Linked DNA regions of Homo sapiens: regions 1 and 3 are each linked to region 2. Evidence: promoter capture Hi-C in 16 types of primary human blood cells and fetal thymus (Javierre and others, 2016). All regions are on one chromosome and are shown on one strand. Each heading gives the region's core, a stretch centred on a gene start or on the middle of the fragment in contact. The rest is flanking DNA. Distances are from core to core; before and after follow the strand shown.

Region 1 (3,666 bases), core at 898-3,397, 130 kb before region 2:
AGAATCACTTGAGCCCAGAAGTCTGAGACCAGCCTGGGCAATACAGCGACACCCCATCTTAAAAAAAATCAACAAATTGAGAGTGAGGGAAAAATAAGCAGAAGGAACTTGAGCTGAGCAAATTCTAAGGACCCAGGCTCACATCCGTCACTCATGCTTCTCCTCTCCTCCAGATATTGACCTGATGTGTCGCCACTCACAGTACACATACATTCTCATGTCAAACTTGCAAAATAAAAGCAACTACAGTTATAGGTGTGGAAAAGGACAGTAGGTATATGGGGACCTAGGGTAGGATTACAGAAGATTTTTTGAGGTTTCTATCCATACAGCTTCATCCCCACACCAAGGCTTATATTTGAGAGAGTCAAGACAAGGCCTCTTAAACAACACTGGGCCAAGTAAAGGGGGACTTTGGAACAGGACGCACAATTATTCATTTCCCTAAGAATGTACCATCTCTTCTGGCTCCCTGCCTCACTCTCCTCCCCAGATCTCTCCTACCCAACTTTTTCAATCGTGGGGATTTTAACCTCCAAACATTGGTAGTTTTAAAACCAATGTTTTATCTACAAACCAATATTTCATTTGGTTTGTAGATAAAATAGTACAAGGACAACTGCCAGCATTCAAATCCCATTAAGAAATCTATGAGAATAGCAAAATTTTAACTTTCTCCTTCAAGGTTATGAAGATATTCCTTGGTTACTGTCATTTTTTAAATTCAGCTTTAATCCTCTGCGTGCAAGCAAAAACTGCTATATGCATCCTGCTACGTTTTAAGGGGAGAAAAGCCCCAGAGGAGGTAAGCCAGGAATGGGACTTCAAAAACCTTCTACAGTCCCGAATCCTTTGGGAAGCACATTGGGTAGGCTGTTTGCTTCCATTTACATTTTTTGTTCTTGAAAATTATAATTGAGGGAGAGAGAGTGACCGGAATCCAACTCTACGTTCTATTTCCCAGAAGTGGGAGTAAGTGCGTAATTCTCTATTCCAGTATAAGGGCCATTGTTGCCAGACAAAAGTAGGAAGCTTATTTTTTAAGGAAGAGTTAAGCTGCTGTTTCTTATTTAACATGTAGTACCTTAAACAGAGAATGTGTTCAATAAGAGTTTACCTACTTAAACTGAAAAATGAATTCAAATGATTGGGGGGAGAGGAGTCCTTTTCCTTAGAAGTTTAATTCTATATTAAATTCTTTACTGCCAGAAAACATATTCCTCAAAAATTAAAAACTACAAAAGGAATGTAAGACAAAGAAGACATTTTAAAATTAAGGATTTAAAGCTTCACAAATAATATACATATATATAGCTGAGAACTGTAAAACAATTTTATCGATTTACCATCATAACAAGTGCCATAGGATCTAAAGAACATTCTCTCCACCCCTAGTGTTCATCCAGTGGGTTGCCTTAGCAACAGAAGGAGTATACTACCAGCTTGAAATGTCAGAAAAGGTGTAGAGATGTTTGTCCCATTAGATACTATCAGAATTGACAGAAGGCTAGACAGCAATACTGAGTGTGTACACAACCCCTTGAAAAATGTCAAGATTTCCAAGAGAAACATACAAAACCCCTGAATCAGTTGTTACCCATAATGTATTGATTTCAAAACTTAAAAAAAAAAAAACACTGGAAACTTGTATTTCTTGTATTTTGTAATAAATCTGTCCTTTATGGGTTTCCTACCCACTGGTGTTTCAGCTAATGTTATTTCAAACTTGCTGTCCAGTACAGAGCTTTATGGCAGAGTAACAAAGCTGACATTTTACTTCATCTGTGGGCCAGCAAGTAAGTCTTATAAATCAGTTTGCCCTTCTCTGGTTAGTAAGACCTGGACACAGTGCAGTCATCAGGCCAACCCACAGTGCCAGGCTCTGGGGCCTTGCTCTATTTTCTTTCTATATCTACAGCCAGCAGACAGTATTCAAAGATAAAACCACAAGCCACGCTCCATTTCAAACATTAAACAAATCTTGCTTCCTACTGGCTACAGATCTCTTTTCTGTATTCAAAGAAAGAGAAACAGATATTTTTCTCTGTCAAACATTGCTAGGCCACATATTCCCTTCTCTTGTTGCCTAGAAGTTTCAGGGTATGTGGCTTGAAGCAAGATGTGGCTGTCACATAAAATGAGTAGTTCCCATCCACTCTTTTGTAATGAACTGTTAATTCCTATGTAATGGCTTTTCCTGCAGATAAGAAGCAATATTAAAACTGCTTTTTAAACTTAAGTGAACACCGAACAATCAAGACACATTTTAAGAACTGCTGGACCAAACATCTACTGTTCCCCAAAAAGCTATTGAATTAAAAATAATAATAAATTTAGGGGAAAAAAAGAACTGCTAGATAACCCTAACTCTTATAAACGTCTTCTAAAGTCCTTTCGGGCCTCTGTATTTCTTTTCCTTTTCTTTCCATTATGTGTAAAGCATAGAAAAACAAACATTCTCCTTCAAAAGGAACTAATTTATGAAGACCCTATTCAGGCAAGAGCAGAGCGTTATACTAACGACCCTTCTCCATAGTAAGAGCATCACATTACTTTACCTATACATTACATGTGTGGGCCATGACAAGGTTTTCTATATTTCCTTTAACTTACTACTCATTATGCTGTGACTTGTACTTGGATTTGTCCTTGAAACTAACAAATCATTTCTCTAATTTCTGGATTCAAGTTTAAATCTGTTGTGGTTGTTATAACTCTATTGGTGTTATTTGCAAGTTAAGGAGTGTACTCTTAATCTGACTTTTGGAAAATATTCAATTCTTAAGCCACCCTCAGTGGGTCCTGCTAGTTCCACCAATTGGTTTTCTTTGGGGACAGCTCTCCAACCAACCATGGACCCACAGAATGAGAAGCTGGATCCTCTAAATACATCAGCTGTGTTGAAGTCCAAAACATTCCTATAGAAGAGTTCCAAAAGTTCAATTGGGTTACCTTAAAATTTTCTTTCACTCATAGAACCAATCACAAAGGCAGGAGAAAAGCTTAACTCTTTAAACCTGACGAAGCAATCTGCCAGGTAATACTTTGTTTTGTTAAACACTTTAATATTTTTGCCCTGCAGATTCAATTCATGCTAGTACCTTTACAAAACCAGGTTTGGCACTTTGCGAGGCCGAGGTGGGTGAATCACTTGAGGTCAGGAGTTCGAGACCAGACTGGCCAACATAGTGAAACCCCATCTCTAAAAATACAAAAATAAGCCAGGCGTGGTAGCACACACCTGTAATCCCAGCTACTCAGGAGGCTGAGGCAGGAGAATCATTTGAATCCGGGAGGCAGAGGTCACAGTGAACCAATATCATCCCACTGCACTCCAGCCTGGGCAACAGAGTGAGACTTCGTCTCAAAAAAAAAATAAAAATAAAAAATAAACAGGTTTGGTTATGTTTTTATGATGGATATAACAAAGAATGCACCTGTTCCATAATGAGCAGAAGAACTTCTGCCTGTTAGGAGACCTTTGATCACATGAACTACTTTTACCTAGACAACTGGAAGAGTCCAAGTTCGTTTTTGAAAACAATAGTAATTTACTCTGGCAAAAAATATCTTGAGTCTTCCAAATTGTTATATATTAGTTTGTAAGTGTAAACATATGTGAGAAATATTCTTTATATGACCTCTTTGTTTTTTTAAGGAACTGGG
Region 2 (3,577 bases), core at 952-3,451:
ATCTTTTTTTCTTGGAATTCAGTCCTTGGTCATAAACTGGCAGGACTTGTTGGAGCTTGGGTACCAATATAGTGGTGTACAGAATGTTTAATATAGAAGTAATAGTATATGCTGCAATTTGTTTTAATACCTACTTAGAACACATAGTCTTTTCTCACGGGGCATACTAAAGGAGGTCATGTATCAGAGCTCACCTGAAATTCCTGCCCAATTTAAGTCTTAGCCACAAGTGTAGTTTCTTATAAGAACACAATAAGAAAACATTCCAAACTCTTCTGCAGTACTCACATAATTAAAAAAAAAAAGTATGAAACCCACCCAAGTGAGGCTTCTGAGACATTTCATAGAAACTTAGTTATTAACTACTATTTTTCTTCTTTACCTTTAAGTGTTTATAAACTGCTTAAAGGACAGTTGGGTACTTCAGAGGAAAGTCTAATGACACGCCTGCTATACAACCTGTTCTTAGTTGGCCAGATTGTGTGGTTTTGATAAGGAAAAAAAAAAAGTCAAAAGCAGGACAAACACTGATTCTCTGTTCTCCATTCTCCCATTACCCAAGACATTCATCTGAGTCACACACTCTATAGCTAGCTCTGAGCCTCAGTTTCCCTAACCATTAGCTATAAGATCTGATGCTAGCCAAATTCCTATTTGATCAAAGTTAATCAGCCCAATAATCACATATAGAGTCCACATCAGAACATTACATTGAAATACTATGTTGTATTAAAAATTCCAAAGGGTTTTGCCATATTCATCTCTTTTCTGCAAATACTCCAAAGGGGTTACTTTGGCTATTAATCAAGATTAGGCAAATACCCATGTGCTTTAGGAATGTGTAACTAAAAACCCAGGACAGATCTAGAGAAACCTTCCCAGGTTTCCCAGAAGTCATCACTACGCTTGGATTGTCATGTACAAAGTAGATGCCACAGAACCTAACAAGGGTAGGTCCTTGATTTGTTTTTGCAGTGAAAACAGGATTTCACTTACACCTGACAGCTTCAGGGCCTAGGAACACAAGATAACAACGCTTCAGAAAGCCAGGGGCCCCATGGAACCCCAAATGATCAGTTCTTTATAAACGAAAATTAAAGATCTTACTTTCTTTGGATTTTGCCCAATTGGTGTGGTCCGTGGTGAACCTCTATAACTCCTGGTGTGAGGAGATGTGTGGATACCCAGGCAGGGGTCAAGGCGGGAGAAGCCGCACAAACACAGATGTTGCCACTGTTCCTCGGCCCACCCAGCCAACCAATGCGGGGACGCTGTGGGCCTATAGAGATGGATTCTTTCTTAGAAATCTAACTGGTCTCTGGGAAACCAAAGCTGGGTATCCAGGGCCGCCTGAGCACCCAGTTTCCATACAGCCCTCGACCCAAATGGTGCTTTCTTGGCCAAACACCGGCCTGTCATTCGGAAAACCTAAGCACGGGAAGGCTGGGGCACCACCACATACACCCCGGGTATTTAAGGGGAAACAAATCCATAAAATAAGCGTAAGGAGTCCCACATAATTCTGACCACCTTTCCCAACCAAGGTAACCATAAATGCCTTTTGAAACACAGCAGATGCTTCCACACGAGTAAGTGGTAGTGCGTGTGTCCTGAGCTTGCGTTCCGTCTGCATTCTGCGGTCCTGGCCCTGCCAAGCACCCTCAGTCCCGGAGCTGAAGCATGGATGGGAAGGGCGGACACCAACTCTCGACGTTCTCCCTTCTCCACCGCAGGAGTGCTGTTTATTTCCCTGTCTCCCGAAGGACACTGGCGGGGCTTTCACCCGCCCAGCCCCCGGCTCTCAGTGCGCCCGAGCGACCCCGCGCTCCGCAGCTGCCGCCGCCGCACGAGGCTGCGCCGCCCTCTCCACTTGTTGCCGCTCCCGAGGGAGCGGGAGGCGGCGCCCAGCCCTCGCGCCGCAGCGCCTGCAGCGGTTCCCCGGTCACCTCTGCTGACCCTCGCATCCCTGGGGACCCTGGAGAAAGTGGCCCTGCGGATGCGAACTCAGGTGGACAAACTTTTCCGCCCAGAGCTGCAGGGAAACGCAGACGATGGAGTCCCAAAGAGCATTTACCTGGAGCGATGGCCCCGCAGCCTCCAGAACCCAGGCGAGGCTCTGCCCCCGCGCCCTGCCTGAGGGCGCCTCGGAACGCGCCCCCAGCCAGCCGCCGCCCGGAGTCCGGAAGGCTCTCCCCGGCGATGCCAACGCCTGGCGGCGGCCGGGCTGAAGCCAAGGTTTAGGGGGTGGAGCCGCGGCCGCGCGCCCGGGCCCGGCTGGCTGCGCCAGCAGCGGGTGCCGCCCCCGCTCCCCCCGCTCCCCCCGCGCCTCCCCGCTGCCACTGGATCCCCGCCTGCCCACCTCCCGGCCCGGCTCGCGGCGGCCGCATCACATGGCGAGGCCCGCCCGCCGGCCGCGCCCGACACCGGCTCCAGGAGGAAACCTGAAGCTGCCCCTACCGCGCTGTCTCCGCCAGCCCCCTCCCGCTGCGGGGCTGCGGCCGTTGGCCTCCGGAGATCGGAGGCGCGGAGGCTGGCGCGGACCTGGCGGGCCACAGGAGTGCCAGTTGCGCCCCGGGCGCCCCCACGCCTTGGCGCCTCCCGAGGGAGGCGCTGGGCTGCCCGCTCGCGAAAGGAGTTGTGCCAGGCCCGAGGGAGGCTCAGGCTGTTCCCAGCCAAAAGCCACCACACCCGTGACATAATACGGCCCGGGTCTATTACAATAGGAAATATTATTTTTAAAAACAGCATTTGCCCTCTTATTTGAAGCTCATGTTCCCTGGCCGAGAGCTTTGCAAGCTGCGATTCCCTTCACGTTTATGCACGCAAGTGGCTGCAAGTCTTAATTCAAAAACGTATGAAAACCATAACCACTTTTACAATGAACAGCAATGTGAAGGGACTTCCTTATCCTCCAAAGCAGTTTTCCTCTTAGATGTGATGACAGCCCCAAGAGCAGAAGCCAAGCCTCTTCATCAGCCAGGCTCTCATATACAGACTTAAGACCATTATTGCAGCTTTAAAGGTAAAATTGCCCATCTGAGACTGCTGTGGCAGTAAGTGTTATAGTTAAGACTATTTGTAAGGAAATTAGTATTGAAATATAAAGTTTCTAATAAAATTTATAAAATCACCTTGAGTCTCTGCTTTGTTTTTCCTTTGAAGACTGGCTACGCACAGAACCATAACAAAGGTGTGGCCCGAGGAAGCTGGCCACCAAGATCCCAAGCCAGAATGGAGCCCAGCTCCCAGGCTGCCACCACCACTTCTCCTGGGCCTGGGCCTTTTCTGTCTCCCTTCCAGCCGCCACCTTCCCCAGCCCACCTTGCTGATACGAATGCTGAGAAAGGCTGAGATTAGCAAGAGAAAGACCATCGTGTGTCTGAATGCCTTAGCCCTGTTCCAAGGCAAAGGCTGCAATTCCGCCTTGGGAAAGGGACCCCAACACTGGCATTGCACTCCTGACCTGGGCTGTCATCCCAGCTGATTCCACCCTCAGCCCCACAGAGCTGTGAACTCAAGGCCTGGCCTCAGGCGCTGCCACAAAAAAAAAAAAAGAAAAAAAAAATATATATATATA
Region 3 (3,386 bases), core at 581-3,080, 170 kb before region 2:
GCTACTCGGCAGGCTGAGGCAGGGGAATTGCTTGAACCCAGGAGGCAGAAGTTGCAGTGAGCCAAGATGGCGCCACTGCATGCCAGCCTGGCTAACAGAGCAAAACTCCATCTCAAAAAATAAAAAATAACAGATAACAAATAACAAAAGAGTGTTGAAGTGGCCTCCAGGGAGAGCCCATTTCCTATTCCAGACTGTGTCTGACCATCTGACTATTGCTCACAGCTTGCTGTCCCCTTCTCTCTCAGGTTCTTTGAAAATCTGTTATAATTTCCTTTGCAAAAACTCAGGGGACTTTATTAATTCAAAAAGTTTAAATGAACCAAAAAGAAAATGCTAGCACAACAAACACTCATCATGGTCCTTTTCATAAATCACTGGACTAAAGTTGTGCTCATTTATCTTTCTCAAATCCTTCACAGACTTAATGATGTTACTGACAAAACACTCAGACGAGGTCAGACTACTACAATTTCCGTAGCACATGCTTCTTGCTCACAAGTTTACAAGTTTGAAACTAGAGTGAGTTTTTAAAACCTGAAATTAAGATCGTCTCAGTGTTTAATACTTTTAGTAGCCTACCTCCCTCCCCCAGCAATTCATCTTAGCAAACATTCTTCAAAGCTAACATTCCCAGGAGCATGATGCAATTTGTAGCTGAGACATCCTGTGTGCGTGAGTAACAGCAATGGCCCTGACATCAGTGGCCCACAACAGCCATCTATACAGAGATGTTTGCTCTCTTTTTGCCTTCCTCTTCCCCTCTTCTGTAAGTAAATCATTACTCTTACCTTAAATAGCAAAAATATTAAGGACGTGTATATTGCTTAGTGTGGGTCTAAATTTCTGTTCCAATTTCAGTAGGGCCACATGCAGCAAGATCCTGGAAACCACCTCTGGCATGTGGCCAAGCTACTAGCAACACCATCAACCAACACCAAGGGTGCTTCCTCCTTGCTCTGCTCTACACAGCATGATTTCCGAATGGTTGTAACTGCTCTGTCGTGTGTTGGCACAGCATACCAACCACACTCCCTCAGCCTCCAGGGAGCCCCATGCACGTGTAGGCTCACGGTGACCCCGTGGGTTACCCACCTTCTCCATTAATCTCACTCTGAGCATTGATTTAGCTTTTCCTGATTTCACATCAGCTTGAGCCCTCAGTCACTACCATCAGCAACACCTCACCCCTTGCAACTTCTAAGACTGTCCTGCCCATGTGTGCCTTCCAGGTGTGTGAGATGCCTCAGCTTCACAGAACCAGAGGAAACCAACTGGAGTGGTTCGTGCTCATCTGCCTCTCACTTGTCAGCCCCAGAGGTCTTCACAGACATCCAGGTGCCCAAACTCAGCCTCTGCTGATAGCTCAGCCTGTATCTTCAAACACCCCATTAGCTTCATTATGCTCTATTCACCTCTAAGTAACTCAAGAGATAGGGCTGGGGTCCAAATTAGCCTTGAAGAAATAGAGAGTACCTGGGAGGAGATTTAGGAAGGGGTCCTCAGGGAGTTGTGAAACAGAATATTGTAATCAGATGAGAATTCCCAGGTCAGAGGGAGGAAATACCTCTACCTTGCCAAGGGTGGAGGAACACCTGGTTCCTCTGAAAGGACACTCACATCAGACTCAAATCCCAGAACAAACATCTGGTCTTTTCCTGAGCTCAGCAGTGTAGATCACATAGGCTCAGCTCCAAGGGGACCCCACTGGGCATCAAAATGGGATTTTGGTAAGCTTGGAGATTCTAGGGCCAGGTGGAATGAAGTTATGAGTCTCGGTTCCACCATCTACTCTCCACCAGTGCTTCAACTGCTTCACCTGAACCTGAGACTGGTAGTGCCTACTTCACAGAAATAACAAGGGAACATATGACAAGTCCAGAGCCAGCTTCTGGCTCAGAGTAAAACTGTTCAGGAAAAGCTTTGATTGCCTTGTTTTTTAGATTGTAAATGGAGTCTCAACCTCTAGAGTCATAGTATTACAAATGATCCTACAAATAAAATTTATCTGGATGCGTTTCAGGAAATAGATAAGGTTACCAGGAAGGAATATTTTATGTTAAAATTTACTTGCTTCTTGTCCACTCTAAACCTGGATCTGGGATGCCCCTACGAGTATAGGTAAAAGCGTTATTTCATACCCAAATCTAGGCTGTGCTGGTCTTCATGTTCATTGTGTTGAACCACCAGGCTTTTGACACGCTGGAAGAGATAAAGTCAGGTGGATTTTTAAAAAATTACATATATGCTACACTAATGTTTATTTTTGTGAACTAGAAAAACAACCTTGGAAAGCATCAATGAAAACATGTTACAAGTATCATCACATGTAAACAGAAAACTAGTCTTATACTTAATATTATTTAACAGCTAAAAGTGAGTAATGAATCTATCCCAAGCTGAAACACACCTGAAAGCTGTACACAGGTTATTTTATTCTCAGAGGACATCTCCCACATTTACTCTTGTAATCACATTGTTGTCAAATATCTATAAACATCAAACTTCAAGTAGAAATTTGTTTTGCAGAATGTATTCAATCATCTTGCATATACAACTACAACTCAGAAAGATAGCTAGGTTTGGTTATAAAGAATAGGGATTAAGAATTTGATAAAGAAAATGGGGCTGGGCACGGTGGCTCATGCCTGTAATCCCAGCACTTGGGGAGACCGAGGCGGGCAGATCACCTGAGGTCACGAGTTCGAGACCACCTTGGCCAACATGGCAAAACCCCATCTCTACTAGAAATACAAAAATTAGCCAGACGTGGTGGTGGGCGCCTATAGTCCCAGCTACTCAGGAGGGTGAGGCAGGAGAATCATTTGAACCCAGGAGGCAGAAGTTGCAGTGAGCCAAGATCGTGCCACTGTACTCCAGCCTGGGTGACAGAGCGAGGCTCCATCTCAAAAAAAAAAAAAAAAGAAAGAAAAAGAAAACAGAATTTCACATTATTCTGAAAGTGACTTGGGGCACATCCTTTTTTTAGTGTTTTTTAAACATTTTTATTACCACTAAATCTTCATTTCTACTTTATGGAAAGACGTGCAAAGAAAGAAGCAGGGAGTCATTCATTACCTTTATATCTTCCTTTTCAGCTGCTGATCTGCTGGACACTGAATTCTTAATCTCTGCAAAAGAAATAATTATCAGGATCTGCTGATGGGAGCTTTTGTTAAGAAGAACAACAACTACTAGCTGACAAGTGTAAATGAGTTGCCCAGGAGCCTTCTGCACAGAGATAGGTTTTTAGATTAGGCCTCTTAAAAATCAGCTCTCCACAGAGCAGAGTGTCTAATAACCCGACTGTCCATACTCTGGTATTATCTGTGTGGACTAAGATGGAAACAAGCCCAGGAGCTCTCACAGGAAATCCTGAAGGGGAA

What was found. Contacts are between HindIII fragments. The CHiCAGO score rates a contact against its expected background, and 5 or more counts as called.
Region 1: a fragment that was not itself captured here is called in contact with the fragment with the promoter of ARHGEF28 in region 2 in 1 of 17 cell types (endothelial precursors); the score reaches 5.4 in endothelial precursors.
Region 3: a contact is called between a fragment that was not itself captured here and the fragment with the promoter of ARHGEF28 in region 2, in 1 of 17 cell types (endothelial precursors). The highest score is 8.3, in endothelial precursors.

The regions. Positions count from the first base shown.
Region 1 is chr5:73,758,274-73,761,939 of GRCh38, reverse strand. All of the region lies in intron 4 of ARHGEF28 (Rho guanine nucleotide exchange factor 28), which reads right to left. Among named protein-coding and RNA genes, the nearest start is that of ARHGEF28, 130 kb to the right of the region's middle. The HindIII fragment of the contact is 1,715 bases long and covers 1,290-3,004 here.
Region 2 is chr5:73,624,820-73,628,396 of GRCh38, reverse strand. It overlaps ARHGEF28 (Rho guanine nucleotide exchange factor 28), which reads right to left and starts at 2,201. Exons shown (of 36, transcript NM_001177693.2): 1 at 2,075-2,201. RefSeq lists a silencer at 2,403-2,492. The HindIII fragment of the contact is 6,049 bases long and covers 1-3,577 here.
Region 3 is chr5:73,794,147-73,797,532 of GRCh38, reverse strand. ARHGEF28 (Rho guanine nucleotide exchange factor 28) reads right to left here. Exons shown (of 36, transcript NM_001177693.2): 8 at 3,079-3,131; 9 at 2,142-2,202. Among named protein-coding and RNA genes, the nearest start is that of ARHGEF28, 170 kb to the right of the region's middle. RefSeq lists an enhancer at 293-1,492. The HindIII fragment of the contact is 186 bases long and covers 1,738-1,923 here.